Regions from separate parts of the Homo sapiens genome. Here all the other regions are linked to region 1. Evidence: promoter capture Hi-C in 16 types of primary human blood cells and fetal thymus (Javierre and others, 2016). All regions are on one chromosome and are shown on one strand. The core of a region is centred on a gene start or on the middle of the fragment in contact, and the rest is flanking DNA. Distances in the headings are between cores, read along the strand shown.

Region 1 (4,856 bases), core at 879-3,378:
TTTGACAATGTTCCTCAGGTGATTCTAACTATCCTATGTTAACTGCACGAAAACGTAAACTCTTTCACATCAGGAATCATCATTACGCAGCACAATGTAAGTGCTCAATAAATGCTTTACTAAATTGAACTGAAACAGAGAAGTCTGGAAGATGAGGGAGAAGAGTTTGGAGCTAAAGATTTGGAGGCATCAGGATGTAAGATGGTGTGAGTGCAGTGAGAGGAGGAAGGAAGCCAGGAAGGACTTCTTGATGACCCTTTCACTGTAACCACAGAAGACTCAATTACATGTGTTTTCCTTAGGACTTGAGTTCCTTAAGGGTCGGGAACTCTCCATCCTACTCATCTCTGTAAGCCTGGCGCTAAGCACAGTGCATGGTACATGTTAGGAGCTCAGTAACCTTTTATTGATCTTTTATTGAGCTGTATCAGTGCCCCTGGTAATAGAGGGGGGTAAAAAACTTCAGGGACACACAGGAAGAAGTGACTAACTTGGCATAGGAAGCTGGATACATTGATTTTCAGAGGGACAATTAAGCTCAGTCTTCAAAGAGAAGTTCGCTTGGCAGAGCAGTGTCAAGATCTTCCAAGCAGAAGGAACAGCAGGAACTAAGTACTGAGATATGAAAGAGGGCAGCCACAATCTTTCCACGTGGCCAGGAGTCAGGTGCGTAAGAGATTTACAAAATGAGATTGAGAGGGTCAGGGCCAGACTGAGAGGCCACAGACACCCACCTACGGATTTAAGGCTAACTGTGGGTGGTCAAAGAGGAGTTTTAAATTTAACATCAGATGATCTACCTTTACTTTGTACAAAGTACTAGTAGGGCCGGGTGTGGTGGCTCACACCCGTAATCCCAGCACTGTGGGAGGCCGACGCGGGCGGATCATTTGAGGTCAGGAGTTCGAGACCGGCCTGGCCAACATGGTGAAACCCCATCTCTACTAAAAATACAAAAATTAGCCGGGCGTGGTGGCGGGCAGCTGTAATCCCAGCTCCTGGGGAGGCTGAGGCAGGAGAATCGCTTGAACTGGGGAGGCGGAGGTTGCAGTGAGCCGAGATCGGACCACTGCACTCCAGCCTGGGCGACAGAGCCAGACTCCATCTCAAAAACAAAACAAAACAAAACAACCAAAAAAAACAAACAGGCCAGGCGCGGTGGCTCACGCCTATAATCCCAGCACTTTGGGAGGCCGAGGCGGGCGGATCACGAAGTCAGGAGTTTGAGATCATCCTGACCAATAAGGTGAAACCCCCATCTCTACTAAAAAAAATACAAAAATTAGCCGGGCATGGTGGCGCGCGCCTGTAATCCCAGCTACTCAGGAAGCTGAGGCAAGAGAATCGCTTGAACCCGGGAGGCGGAGGTTGCAGTGAGCCGAGATGGCGCCACTGCACTCCATCCTGGGCGACAGAACGAGACTCCGTCTCAAAATAAAATAAAATAAATAAAAAATTGAAAGTACTAGTCGAAGCACGAATGGCAAAGAATTGAGAGGCTCAAGGAAAAAAGCTTCATTAGCGGCTGAGGTCCAGGTGACAAACCCGAACAAGGCAACGAAGGGAGGGAGTGAGAAATCCGTTCCATAAAACCCACGATATAAGTAAAGCGGCCTGTGAATTCCGACCACTGCTGACCGCCAGGCCACACACCGGTTTTTTTCAGGAGGTCTCAACTAGATGCTAAGCTCCGAAGTGGAACTCCCTCAGGCACTTTCTGTTCTAATTCAGGAATTCCAAGCCCCTTTCCATCACAACCCCATCCCGCGGGAGACCCAAGCTGTGCGGAGCAGCGTAGGGCTAAGCCCGCGTCCGGTGAGACCCGGGAACGCGGCGCGGGAGACTAAGGAGCAGAGTACAGAATTGCGCGTGCGCGCCTGCAGCACGAGCCCCGCCCCCTGGCTCTAAACCGGGTGGCGGGAAAAGGGACTCAGCGTTTCCCGAGAATGCCCCCATAGCTTCGAAAGGATCCCCGTGTCCGCTTAGCGCCCTCTCGCCACACACTCACTCACCCGCTCCCTGCGGGTCCTCAGAAGCCCGGAGGAGCCACCGGCCCTCTGGCGCGGGGCCGCAGCCTTTCCGCCACCAGGCTCAGCTGGACCGGTCCCCGCCTGCGCGAAGAGCGAGGCGGGGCGAGCCGGGCTGGTCCACGTGACTCCGAGCGAACTGGGGCGGAGATTGGTGAAGAAGGAAGGAAAAGGGAAGCGAGTGCAGGGACTGTTTTATGTGAGGTCGATCTAAAAATCACAGCGCTATGAATTTTCTGCTGAATTATAGTAGAATCAAAGTCCGATTAGAGGTGAATTTACAAACATTCTTCCCCTTCTTCTAGTCAAGCGGACTATTCCAAGTCTTAAATAGTTAGTTAGAAAAGTTAGGTTTTATTTGGGAGGAAGTAAAGAGCTGAAGTACAGGGAGGAATGGTCTTCTGGGATAGGGGATGTCCGTTGTATTATAGGTATAAATTTAAAGCTTTCAAAGTATGCAAGAGGCTCATAAAAGGAAGAAAGCAACCGTAAATATTCATTGAACAGTTGAGGGTCTCTTCTGGCCTCTGCTGAGATGATCTTGCCAAAAGGAAAAGAAAATAGGGCTGTGCTCTGGCCCCCTGTAATCCCAGCTACTGGGGAGGCTGAAGCAGGAAGATCGCTTGAGCCCAGGATTTCTAGACTGTAGTGTGCGATGATCGTGCCTGTGAATATCCATTGCACTCCAACCTGGTCAACATAGTAAGACCCCCTCTCAAAAAAAAAAAGAAGATAGGGCTCAAACAAATAATAATCTCCTGAATTATTAAGCATTTGAATAGAAGGAATCAATTTCTGGGGTATGAGGGAGTTAGAAGAGATTTGCTTCAAGATGAAAGGACGGATGACAGAGAAATGAAAATACACAGACACAAAACAAGAAAAAAAACACGGAACTAGTGATAAAAGCAGAAAGATGCCATTTGAGGAGTGTTTTGATTTGCTCTAAATAAATTAGAACAGAGTCAAAGCCTCTCCCCTCATGCCCCCTACTACCACCCGTTCATTTATTTGCTCCAGGAATCAGATTTCCTGTGTTGGCCTTAGGGAACAATTGTGGGGCTTAAATACCATCTGCCAGGCAGCCACAACAGTGGATGTCAGGCTGACCAGTTAAGCTGCTTAATTTTTCTAGATTCTAGGCTTGCCCAAGCTCTATTTAGGTTGGAAGCTCTTTGGCCCAGGACCTCTGAAGAGATCCATTATGTCAGAATGAACACAACCAGCCAGCGGATGTAGACAGGTTTACGTGGCTTTACAGAACAGCTAAATCCTAGTGTTCACTTTTCTCAGAGCTACTTCCCCACCCAAGTCCCTGGGGCAAGCATCCCTAAGATAAGTAGGCTATATATTCCCATTAACTTCCCCCCAATTCTTCGGTACACCTACATCCTGATCTGGGGCTAATACTCCGTTTTCACCACCCACCTCCCTTGAGTCCCTTCTCCTAACCCTTGGAAGCCTTGTCTCCTCCACTTCTCTCCATCTGCCTCGTGTGAGGAGTAACTCCCTGCTTCTCTGTTCCCTCAGAAATCAAGAGCCACACACTTGACTGGCAGCAGGGTAAAGGCCAGAAACTTAAGGTGTCGGTTACCCAGTACTCACCATACTGGGTCGAGGAAGGGAGGTATAGGATGGCACCTCTTTTTGCTTCCTTAGCTCTCATGCCCCAAAACTCAGACACAGCCACACTCACATTCATATGCACAATCAGCACACACGGCGAAGGGTGGTGGGATGGGGAGGAAGGGAAGTTTGCACCAACCAGCTCATGAATGCAACTTGAAAGATTTCACACAGCAAAAGGAAAAAAAAAAAAAAAACAACCACATACATAAGTTAAAAAATAAAGAAGTACATGACCCTCCCCACAGTCTCTTTCTTCATCTAGGGGCTGGCTAAACCCCTCCACGTAAACTCAGAAGCTTTCTACTCCCTCTATTCAGCTGGAGCTTCTACAGGGCCTGGGTGTTCAGTTCAACAGGTTCCCCTGTGACCTCTGGTTGTCCATTGGAGACATCGGGTTTGGCACCCTTGAGGACAGACAGTCTCTCAGAAATACTCTTGAGCCGGGGGAAGAGAAGAAAGTCGTACAGGAGGCTGCCCAGACCCCCTCCAATGATTGGGCCTACCCAGTACACCTGTAGAAAGAGAAAAGGAATACTCAGGCTTGGGGAGGGGACAGAGTAGCAACGCTGCTCTTTTTCCAGCCACCTTAGTGGAAAACAAGATATTGTACACTTGATATCTACAATAAACTCACCATTTATTTTCTGATTCATCAAATTACTCCTTTATCCCACACCTTAGCATGTGTATATTCTATTTGTTATCAATTTGCACTAGTTTGTATGTTGCTTTCAAAAAAATTTTATACATTGTGGTAAAACACATATAAAATTTACCATATTAAATATTTTTGGACAGGCGCAGTGGCTTATGCCTGTAATCCCAGCACTTTGGGAGGCTGAGACGGGCGGATCACAAGACGGGCGGATCACAAGGTCAGCCATTTGAGAACAGCCTGACCAACAGGGAGAAACCCCATCTCTACTAAAAATACAAAAAGTAGCTGGGCGTGGTGGCAGGCGCCTGAAATCCCAGCTACTCAGGAGGCTGAGGCAGGAGAATTGCTTGAACCCAGGAGGCGGAGGTTGCAGTGAGCTGAGATCCTGAGATCAAGCTCCACTGCACTCCAGCCTGGGTGACAGAGGGAGACTCCATCTCAAAAAAATATATATATGTTTTTAAGTGTACAGTTTAGTAGTGTTAAGTATATTCACATTGTTGTGCAACCTATGTCTAGAACTTTTTCATCTTGCAAAGCTG
Region 2 (4,856 bases), core at 1,507-4,006, 300 kb before region 1:
TTTCTATTTTATCTACTGTTCTTTGTGTAAGAGCATGTACTTACCATAATTTCTCCTTAGATCAAAACAATCTTGATCATAAAGCCTGGCTTACTGAGTATTCTTGCCTTTCCCTGCAGGGTAGACTTCAATTGTCCTAGAGGTTCCTTCCCTGTGGTAAGTCCTGGGGTCAGGACTTACTCCAGGGGATGATGTCCTGGGGATCCACCATCGTGTCTCACCACTACCCAAGACACAGACATGGCTTCTGTTCATAAATTCCTATTAAATATTTCTAAGAAACTGGATTTGTCAGCCTCCTTCCTCAACCTCTTAGCTTCCTTGGACTTTGGGGGTAAGTGTGCATAGACCTGTGCACTGCGGAACAGCTCCCCAATGGCTTTCCATATTCTTTCAATCTAATGGGCCACTCTGGACAGCTGAACATGTGGAGGTTCCTGGAGGACGGCATGCCTAGGGAAGGCAAGCAAGCTTCGGACTCACCTCCCTCCCTGCCCACAAAATGCAATCTCTAAGAATATACAGGCCAGTCAAGGTAGGTCATACCTATAATCCCAGCACTTTGGGAGGCACCTGAGATGGGAAGATCACTTGAGCTCAGTTTGAGACTGGGTAACACAGTGAGACCTCATTTCTAGAAAAAAACAAAACCAAAGAAAAATAAGAATATACAAATCACATGCTAAGCAGGGAGAGGAGAGAGGAGAGACAGGCATTTCTCACAGATAATTCACATATATAATCACCCTATGCCCAGTTAAGACCATGTTTCGTCCAGTTCCTGTTATTTATGATCAAGACAGGGATGGCACAGAAAATGAAGGATAGCCTTCCCATCTCTGCAAGGGTCTTAACGTTTTTTCCCTGTACTACTTCTCTATAGAAAATGCTAGAAAGTCAGATGATGCCATAACCACTCATACTTGGCAAAATGCCAAAAATGGGAAAAGGAAAGAAAAAAAATTACAAGAGCCATATTTTGAAATCAATGTCTGCAAAAGTAATGAAAGCCACACAAAGGCATCTATAATGTGGCCCTTTCCCAGTCTTATAACCACTTAAAAATGTATTCCTTCTTCCTCTCCGTCTCTTCACAACACCTATTGATCCTTACTTCATTGATGTAAAATGGGGAAAATATCAGCGACCTCATACCTTGGGAAGATTAAAGGAAAGTTATTTAACAAAAACTTATACAGCACTTATGCTGTGCCAGGCCTATTCTATTTTACACTTTTTTTTTTTTTTGAGTTGGAGTCTCACTCTGTCACCCAGGCTGGAGTGCAGTGGTGCGATCTCGGCTCACTGCAACCTGCCGGGTTCAAGTGATTCTCCGACCTCAGCCTCCCAAGTAACTGAGATTACAGGCGCCCGCCACCAGGCCCAGCTATTTTTTTTTTTTTTTTTTTTTTTTTTTTTTTTTGTATTTTTAGTAGTGACAGGGTTTCACCATGTTGGCCAGGCTGGTCTCGAACTCCTGACCTCAGGTGACCCACCTGCCTCGCCTCCCAAAGTGCTGGGAGGTGTGAGCCACCAAGCCCGGCCCTATTTTACCAATAATAACACTTCGAATCCTCCGAAGAGCCCTATGAGGTAGGTACCATTATCATTATTTTACAGATGAGGAACTGAGGCCCAGGAGAGATAACTAAACCTGCTGAGGGTCACTAACTAGGACCTGGTAGAACCAGGATTTAAATCTGAGTAGGCTGTCTGAACCCCATCCACTTGAGCACCCTCTGAGATAATTTAGCCCCTTCACCGGTACGAGATCTATGGCGGCCTCCAGAAATGGTTGCTAACTTACTATTATCGTTATTTCTGTCGTACAATTCATTTCTACCTTTCCAATAAACTTTCCCCAACCAGTGAACCTCACTTACTGCCCATAAAGTTCACCTGTGCCTCACCACCCTGCCATCGCCCGAGTTTTCTGCTCTGATCTAATCCTCACACGCCTGTGCAGCACCAGCTTCCAACACCAGGTGCACCGCCAGGGTATTTACTGATCCAGTGAGTGAAGGTGGGCCCGGCCGGGCTGGTTCCCATCCTCTGATCAACGCCTAGGGGAACCAGTGAACTCCAATGCTGACCATAAGAGTTTCAGAAAGTAGGGCTGGAAAGCCCAGCCCTCCGCTCAGAGACCTGTGAAGATCGAGGAGGATGGCGCATATGCTGCCGCAGGATGGAAACCTCGATCAGAGAAGGCTGGGGCAGGTGACTGGGCTTAATTGCAAATTTTAACATTTACTTCAGCAACCAGCTCATTAAAAACAAACTACTCTGAGGCCTCTTTTTTTTCTACCAAACCGCGAGAGGAAGCAAAAGAGAGTGCAGCGGTTCTCCCCGGGGCCGTTAAGTGCTTCCAGCTATCTGACCTCCACGCTGCCTGCTGCAGCCTCAATCTTTCCCCAGGTTCTGAGTTCTTTCAGCAGTAGGTCCAGGAAAACAGCCGCCCCGCCCCCTCCACCTCCCGAGACTAGGAGCCCGCCAGGGTTAAGTAGGAGGGATACCCTAGGGGCCCCGCAGGGTTTTTAGGGTTGGGGTGGATTGGAAATTGTTCATTGCCTTTCAGTTCCGGGACATAAAGCGCGCTGGAAGGACACTGAGTCACCAACCACCGCCATGGGCCGGAAGCCACCGCCCTCGCGTCAACTGCAATCTAGAGCGCGGCGCATCCCGTGAGCCCGCGGGGAACTACGACTCCCGGCATGCTCCGCGGCCACCGGAATTAACCCTTCAGGGCTGGGGGCCGCGCTATGCCCCGCCCCCTCCCCAGCCCCAGACACGGACCCCGCAGGGTGAGTTTTTGGGGGCTGAGGAGGGCCATTTTCTTTAAGATTTAGTGGGGGTGCGTGAGTGTGTGTGTGTGTGTGTGTGTCGTGTGTGTGTGATGTATTTTGTAAAAATGGGACAATTTGCAGTCATGAGATTCAGACGCTGTTTTGCGAATGGGAGACCCAGCATCAACCCCGGGGCCTAAGTGGAATCACTGCTATCTTCCTCAGAATGCTACCTAAATCCTTTCCTAATTTACCCCAGAACAAAAGTAGCCTGCAATCCCTCCCCACTCCCAAACGCCCCCCAACTTGGACTCTCTCCCAGCGCCCCTGGCAAGGTTTGTGACCTGGCCCCTGAGTCAGGATTTTTATTATACCCCTGGTTGTGGGGTGAATACTCATGGAGCCATAGGAGCGCCCACATCCTCTTGGATTAGGGAATTTAAGCCGTCTCCCAGAGCCTGCCCTTCTCCTCAGGTGCCACCAAAGGGTCCCCACAGGTTCAGCAAGCACCCTACCTTTTGTTTGTCTTGAATGACCGTGGGCTTGTGGAAGGTTTCTTCCATGGAAGAATGGGTAGCAGATGTTAAACCTGATCTTTGCCCCCACTCCTGCCCCTAAAACAACACTGGGCACAGGAGACAATGAGGGATGTCATACTCCTGTTTTTATGACTATTCTTCCTTTATACTGTGAATAGTTCCAGTTCTTGGCTGGGTGGGGGCTCAGGAACTACAAGTATTAGGGATCATTAGACTCTAAGGTTAACTACCCCTGCTCTTTACAAAGCCATGGTCAGAAGGGAGTGGAGGGGCTGGGCAGATGGGCTTCTTGTTTTTGTCATTGCTCCCAGACCACACTTTAACTTGTTCCAGTTCACACAAGCCTCCCTGGCTGCTACCCCTCACCCCACCCTTCAAGAAGACTAAAGCTGCTGGATCACCTGCTTTGCCTCACCACCCCCATCTCAGTGCCACTGGCAAGCATCCTATCCTCACCCTGGAGGTTAACTACCTCATTCTGGGCAGTCTCTGGCTTCCTCCCCTACCCCTAAAGGAAACATTGTTCTTTTCTGGTCAGCCTTTGGGGATAAGGGGACAGAGGGAAGAAGACCTTGGGGCAGGAGTCCTGAACCATAGGAGGCCAGGGGAGTGAGGGCAGGCGGTTATATCTCTCCTCTACCTCATCTTTGCCACAGCCAACTGGCTCCCTGCCCCTGCCCCCGCCCCTTGACATCCCAGACTCCCTGGCTATTTAAACAGAGATGGGTGCCCCCATCCGCACACTGTCCTTTGGCCACCGGACATCATGCCTCCCAAGAAGGATGTTCCCGTGAAGAAACCAGCAGGGCCCTCCATCTCCAAACCTGCTGCTAAGCCAGCAGCAGCAGGGGCTCCTCCAGCCAAGACCAAAGCTGAGCCAGCTGTCCCCCAGGCCCCTCAGAAAACCCAGGAGCCTCCAGTCGATCTCTCCAAAGTGGTGGTGAGTCTCTGGAAAGTGAAGATAGAATTGGAGGGGGTGGTTTGAGGGTGGGATACAGCCTAGGGGATTAGGGGGTATCTAGAAGGTAGGGAATCAGTGAGCCCTGGAATGAGATTGGGGCTTTCCCTTAGTCCCCCATTTGGAAGCATCCAGTCTTATGACTCTGCTGTTGTCTTTGCTGTTCTCTCCCTCTAACCTATAATCATGTGTGTACAGCACATACACACTCACTTACCCCCTGCTGGAGGCAGGGACTCTTAGATGGGGAACATCTGGGTTCTGAGAACAGTTTCAAGGTGAAGGGAAGAGAGCTGTTGCCTGCCCCTGGCTGGTGGTTCAATTCAAAAGGCCTGCAGCTCTGAACTCCAGGAGGGGAGGCTGAAGAGGACAGACTTGTTAGACAATCACAGCTGGGGGCCAGGGGTAAATTTAGCCTTTGTTCAGCCCCCAGTTATGTGTGGGATGCAGGGCTCAGGGCAATGGAGGGAGGGAAACAGGTGGCATGGGATTAACCCTGTTCCCAGGAAACCCTCCCCACTGTAATTCCTCTTCTTGGGATTCTCCCAAGGCCCAGAGCTGGGAATGGGACTGAGG
Region 3 (4,856 bases), core at 1,810-4,309, 270 kb before region 1:
GACTCCTCTATACCCTATCTGTCAACTGAAGATGATATCTACCTCTAAGGTTGACGTAAAGATTAAATTACTCAATGTAGGTTGGACATTTAGTATAGTGCCTGGGAGATACTAAGCTCTCAATAGATGCAGGCAATTATCATCATTTACTATTTTTTTTTTTCTGAGATGGAGTTTCACTCTTGTTGCCCAGGCTGGAGTACAATGATGAGATCTTGGCTCACTGCAACCTCCACCTCCCGGGCTCAAGTGATTCTCCTGCCTCAGCCTCCCAAGTAGCTGGGATTACAGGTGCGTGCCTCCACACCCAGCTAATTTTTGTATTTTTAGTAGAGACGGGGTTTCACCATGTTGGCCTGGCTGGTCTCGAACTCCTGACCTCGTGATCTGCCCGCCTGGGCCTCCCAAAGTGCTGGAATTACAGGCGTGAGCCACCATGCCCAGCCATCATTTACTATTTTATACCAAGAGTTCAGTTCCTACTCCAACCCTGCCTGCATGTCATGTTGAATTCATTTCACCTGATCACTACTTTCTTTTCACACATACTGCTTTCTCCAGGAAGAGAAGGAAGAGAGAACCATAGCAAGCTATGAAGAAAAAACACGGAGGGACCCCCAGAGAGGGGAAGCTGTGGAATAGCTGGGAAGAAAACTTGTTCAGTTCTCAGTCTCACCCACCTCATCAATGTGGTTATCTTGAAGTATTCCTAACCAAAGAAGACTGCCATGTCTTATCCAAAGCCAAGCAGGTTTGGCCTGAGGCAAAATCTTTTTTTTTTTCTTGAGACGGAGTCTTGCTCTGTCGCCCAGGCTGGAGTGCAGTGGCGCAATCTCGGCTCACTGCAAGCTCTGTCTCCCAGGTTCATGCCATTCTCCTGCCTCAGCCTCCCAAGTAGCTGGAACTACAGGCGCCTGCCACCACGCCCAGCTAATTTTTTTTTTTTTTGAGACGGAGTCTCGCTCTGTCACCCCGGCTGGAGTGCAGTGGCGTGATCTCGGCTCACTGCAACCTCTGCCTCTCAGGTTCAAGTGATTCTCCTGCCTCAGCCTCCAGACTAGCTGGGACTACAGATGCATGCCACCACGCCCGGCTAATTTTTTTTGTTTTTGTTTTTTTGTTTTTTTTGAGACGGAGTTTCACTCTTGTTGCCCAGGCTGGAGTGCAATGGCGTAATCTCGGCTCACTGCAACCTCCGCCTCCCGGGTTCAAGCGATTCTCCTGCCTCAGCCTCCCTAGTAGTTGGGATTACAGGCACGTGCCACCACGCCCAGCTAGTTTTGTATTTTTAGTAGAGACGGGGTTTCTCCATGTTGGTCAGGCTGAGCTCGAACTCCTGACCTCGGGTGATCCGCCCGCCTCAGCCTCCCGAATTGCTGGGATTACAGGCATGAGCCACCGCGCCTGGTCTTTTTAGTAGAGATGGGGTTTCATCATGTTAGCCAGCATGGTCGCGATCTCCTGACCTTGTGATCCGCCCGCCTCGGCCTCCCAAAGTGCTGGGATTACAGGCGTGAGCCACCACACCCAGCCTTGTTCATTAATTTTTTTAGATACGGGGTCTTGCCGTGTCAGCCAGGCTGGAGAGCAGTGGTGTGATCATGGCTCACTGCAGCCTCAAACTCCTGGGCTCAAGCAATCTTCCCATTTCAGCTTCCGAAGTAGCTGGGACCACAGGTATGCCCCACCAGGCCCAGCTAATTTTTTTTCACTTCTTTAGAGATGGGAGTCTTGCTATGTTGCTCATGCTATTCTTGAACTCCTGGCCTCAAGGAATCCTTCTGTCTCAGTGTCCCAAGTAGCTGGGATGATTTACAGTCGTGAGCCACCGTGGCTCCTACACTTCTTTCCCAGTGAGCCCTCTCCATCCCTTAATTTATATAAACTGGTCTTCTATTAGTTCCTTCTCTTGTTTTTCTATTAAAACCTACTCTCAGGAACCAGCCTGGTAATAGTAATTTACACTTTAATCAAAACTTTTGTGCTAGGAATATCTGCAGTATAGACGATATCAGTAATATGGATTTAAAGGCTCTATACCCTGTTAAAAAGAAGTTGAGGCACTGGAGTAGGTACTTGTTATGTATAGAACATGCTTAATATCACCCTTGGGCAAATCCTAAAGAACATGTGTCTACATGCTAGGCCAGGGCTGCCTAAAGGCAGATATTGTGCCTTTGTAAGCCTAGCATAGTGCCTGGCTCATGGAAGATGCTCAAGAAATGTTTGCTAAACTGAATGTTACTGGATCAGGAAGGGTGAATGTGGGGACAGGAGGGAGAAGGAGAATCATGAGATGAGATTTCCTTACATCTCTGGAGTCTTGGACTTGTTCTTGCCGTTGAAGAACTCGGGGAGAGCCCTCCGCTCAATGGCATGAACACTGCAAGAAAAGCCAGAATGGTTTCAGAAGAAGGCATTGGTGAAGGGATGGGGGCCCCAAAGGGAGGAAAAGCCTAGAAGGCAAAGAAGGAAAAGAGCTCGAAATTGCTGAAGTTAGAAGCTTGGGGAGAACATCCCACAGGCTGTAAGACTCAAAAGGACACAAGGAGCTCCCCTAAAACTAAAGTGTACTCTGGTCTATTTGGGTGAGGAAAAAATAACTTATTTGGAGGAGGCAGGGAGAAGAACAGCCTGTTGACCCCTGGAGGCAGGGAAATAAGGACTCAGTGAGAAGTTGGGGACAACCATACCTATTGTAGTCAAACCAGGCAGCGTAGCTGGGAATGATGATGTGGTGGGTCTGTTCAGTCACATTGTCCTCATGCAGGTCTGGATTCTTGGTCTGCTCTCCCTTGTTCCCCGTACTGTTCTCATCCTCATCCTACGAGTATGGAGGCTGCTGGACACTCAGCATTCCTGCTTCCTCCCTAGCAACCCTCTGCTTCTCCCACACCCCAGGAATGTGGACACTAAAGATGGGTGATGGGACTGAGCAGTCATGGGCCCCAGGACTCTGAAAGGGTCAGAGTTTTGAACAAAGCTGGAATTAGTCTACAGTGGGTAAAGTCTGGGCAGTGAAAAGTTTGGGCAGAATGAACTTTATAATCACAAATCAGAATCACATAGAGAGGTAGGGCCTCTCTAAACTGGCTCCACCTTGCCCGTCGTCTCCATGCTTTCATCTTCCTGTTCATCTGAAAGAGAAAAACCAAGATGTAAGGCTGGAGCCTCCTGAGGGGCAAGAAAGCCCTACCAAAAGCCCATCAGGCTAGCGAAAAGGGGGCAGCTGAGCCCTCCCCTTCCCTTGGCTCTGACTGCCGTGCCCAAGAGGCTCCTGTCTTACCCAGGTCGGTCATGGTGCCGCCTTTGACTGGGGCCGACTCTGAGTCTTTCTTTGTGTTGACTGCGAAAACAGAGAGTCATTTTATCAGACAGATTTTGCCTAATTCAAGCCTTCAATTTAATAGTTCCAGACATCCTACTTTCTCCAAAAATTGTCTCCACCTGATTGCAAAATATAGTAATTCTCTCCAGTCACAATTATTCTAGGGCTTCAAACTTCTTGCTACTTTCCCCACTTCTCCAACCAAAAATTAATTTAACTTATTTCTCTATGTACATTCATAAATGATTCTTGTCTTTGACAGGCCTTTATCTCCATCTATGTATCTGTAAGCTTTTAATGGTCTGATACTGAATCTGACCAAATCACTCTGTGGAAGAATGGTTAAGTGTTAAACATTTTTGAAAGCAGAGGATACTTTCCTCAACTGAATTCATATACATATGCTCAGGAGCAAACATAGAGAAGAGAGAGAGCTGATTGATGAGGAGGTAGAAGCCAGAACTCTTCTTGGTGGCAGCCCTAATCCTACCCCTGAAATACACTTCTGGAATACCTGGGGTGAGTCTACAGAATACAGACTGTAAACCAGTATTGGTGGAGCAATGTCTCCAAAGTGGGGTTCTAACATAGGACGCAAAAGATGATCCACTGCAACTCAGGGAGAGAATACAGAACTTCTCTTCATGTTTTTTGTTTTGTTTTTTTGAGACGGAGTCTCGCTCTGTCGCCCAGGCTGGAGTGCAGTGGTGCGATCTCGGCTCACTGCAACCTCCACCTCCCAGATTCAAGTGATTCTCCTGCCTCAGCCTCCCGAATAGCTAGGATTACAGGCGCCCACCACCACGCCTGGCAAATTTTTGTATTTTTCGTAAAGATGGGGTTTCACCGTGTTAGCCAGGATGGTCTTGATCTCTTGACCTCGTGATCCGCCTGCCTCGGCCTCCCAAAGTGCTGGGATTACAGGCGTAAGCCACCGCGCCCTGATTCTTCATGTTTGTTTTTATCATTCTTTACATTTTTCAATTTTTTAGATATGTTTGTGTTTTAAAACGTTCCCATGGTAGCGGCTTAACAGTACAAGTACATAATTAATGCATATATACATTTTTTTTTCTTTTTTTTTATTTGAGATGGAGTCTCGCCCTGTTGCCCAGGCTGGAGTGCAGTGGCGTGATCTCAGCTCACTGCAAGCTCCGCCTCCCAGGTTCACGCCATTCTCCTGCCTCAGCCTCCTGAGTAGCTAGGACTACAGGCACCCGCCACCACGCTCAGCTAATTTTTTTGTATTTTTGGTATAGACAGGGTTTCACCATGTTAGCCAGGATGGTCTCGATCTCCTGACCTCGTGATCCGCCCACCTCGGCCTGCCAAAGTGCTGGGATTACAGGCATGAGCCACCGTGCCCGGCCCTTTTTTTTTTTGAGATGGAGTTTTGCTCTTGTCGCCCAGGCTGGAGTGCAGTGGTACAATCTCGGCTCCCTGCAACCTCTACCTCCCAGGTTCAAGCAATTCTCCTGCCTCGGTCTCCCGAGTAGCTGGGATTACAGGTGCCCACCACCACGCCCAG

What was found. The method cuts DNA at HindIII sites, captures the fragments that hold promoters and counts their contacts. A CHiCAGO score of 5 or more calls a contact.
Region 2: a contact is called between the fragment with the promoter of MYL6B here and the fragment with the promoter of TIMELESS in region 1, in 3 of 17 cell types (naive CD4 T cells, total CD4 T cells and total CD8 T cells). The highest score is 6.9, in naive CD4 T cells.
Region 3: a fragment that was not itself captured here is called in contact with the fragment with the promoter of TIMELESS in region 1 in 2 of 17 cell types (M1 macrophages and naive B cells); the score reaches 5.3 in M1 macrophages.

What each region holds. Positions count from the first base shown.
Region 1 is chr12:56,447,298-56,452,153 of GRCh38, forward strand. TIMELESS (timeless circadian regulator) reads right to left here and starts at 2,129. Exons shown (of 29, transcript NM_003920.5): 1 at 2,013-2,129. It overlaps MIP (major intrinsic protein of lens fiber), which reads right to left. Exons shown (of 4, transcript NM_012064.4): 4 at 2,205-4,168. The coding sequence ends at 3,983. RefSeq lists enhancers at 1,010-1,530, 1,553-1,672, 1,783-1,872. The HindIII fragment of the contact is 959 bases long and covers 1,512-2,470 here.
Region 2 is chr12:56,149,831-56,154,686 of GRCh38, forward strand. It overlaps MYL6B (myosin light chain 6B), which reads left to right and starts at 2,757. Exons shown (of 8, transcript NM_002475.5): 1 at 2,757-2,801; 2 at 4,043-4,262. The coding sequence starts at 4,089. LOC124902942 reads left to right here and starts at 1,997. Exons shown (of 3, transcript XM_047429954.1): 1 at 1,997-2,217; 2 at 2,576-2,801; 3 at 3,979-4,067. The coding sequence starts at 2,164. The coding sequence ends at 4,013. It overlaps MYL6B-AS1 (MYL6B antisense RNA 1), which reads right to left. Exons shown (of 3, transcript NR_186043.1): 3 at 966-1,155. It overlaps LOC124902943 (a long non-coding RNA gene), which reads right to left and starts at 4,043. Exons shown (of 2, transcript XR_007063328.1): 1 at 3,299-4,043. RefSeq lists an enhancer at 1,831-1,910. The HindIII fragment of the contact is 15,658 bases long and covers 470-4,856 here.
Region 3 is chr12:56,175,711-56,180,566 of GRCh38, forward strand. SMARCC2 (SWI/SNF related BAF chromatin remodeling complex subunit C2) reads right to left here. Exons shown (of 29, transcript NM_001330288.2): 12 at 3,287-3,346; 13 at 3,100-3,137; 14 at 2,694-2,824; 15 at 2,312-2,383. Among named protein-coding and RNA genes, the nearest start is that of SMARCC2, 11 kb to the right of the region's middle. The HindIII fragment of the contact is 1,116 bases long and covers 2,502-3,617 here.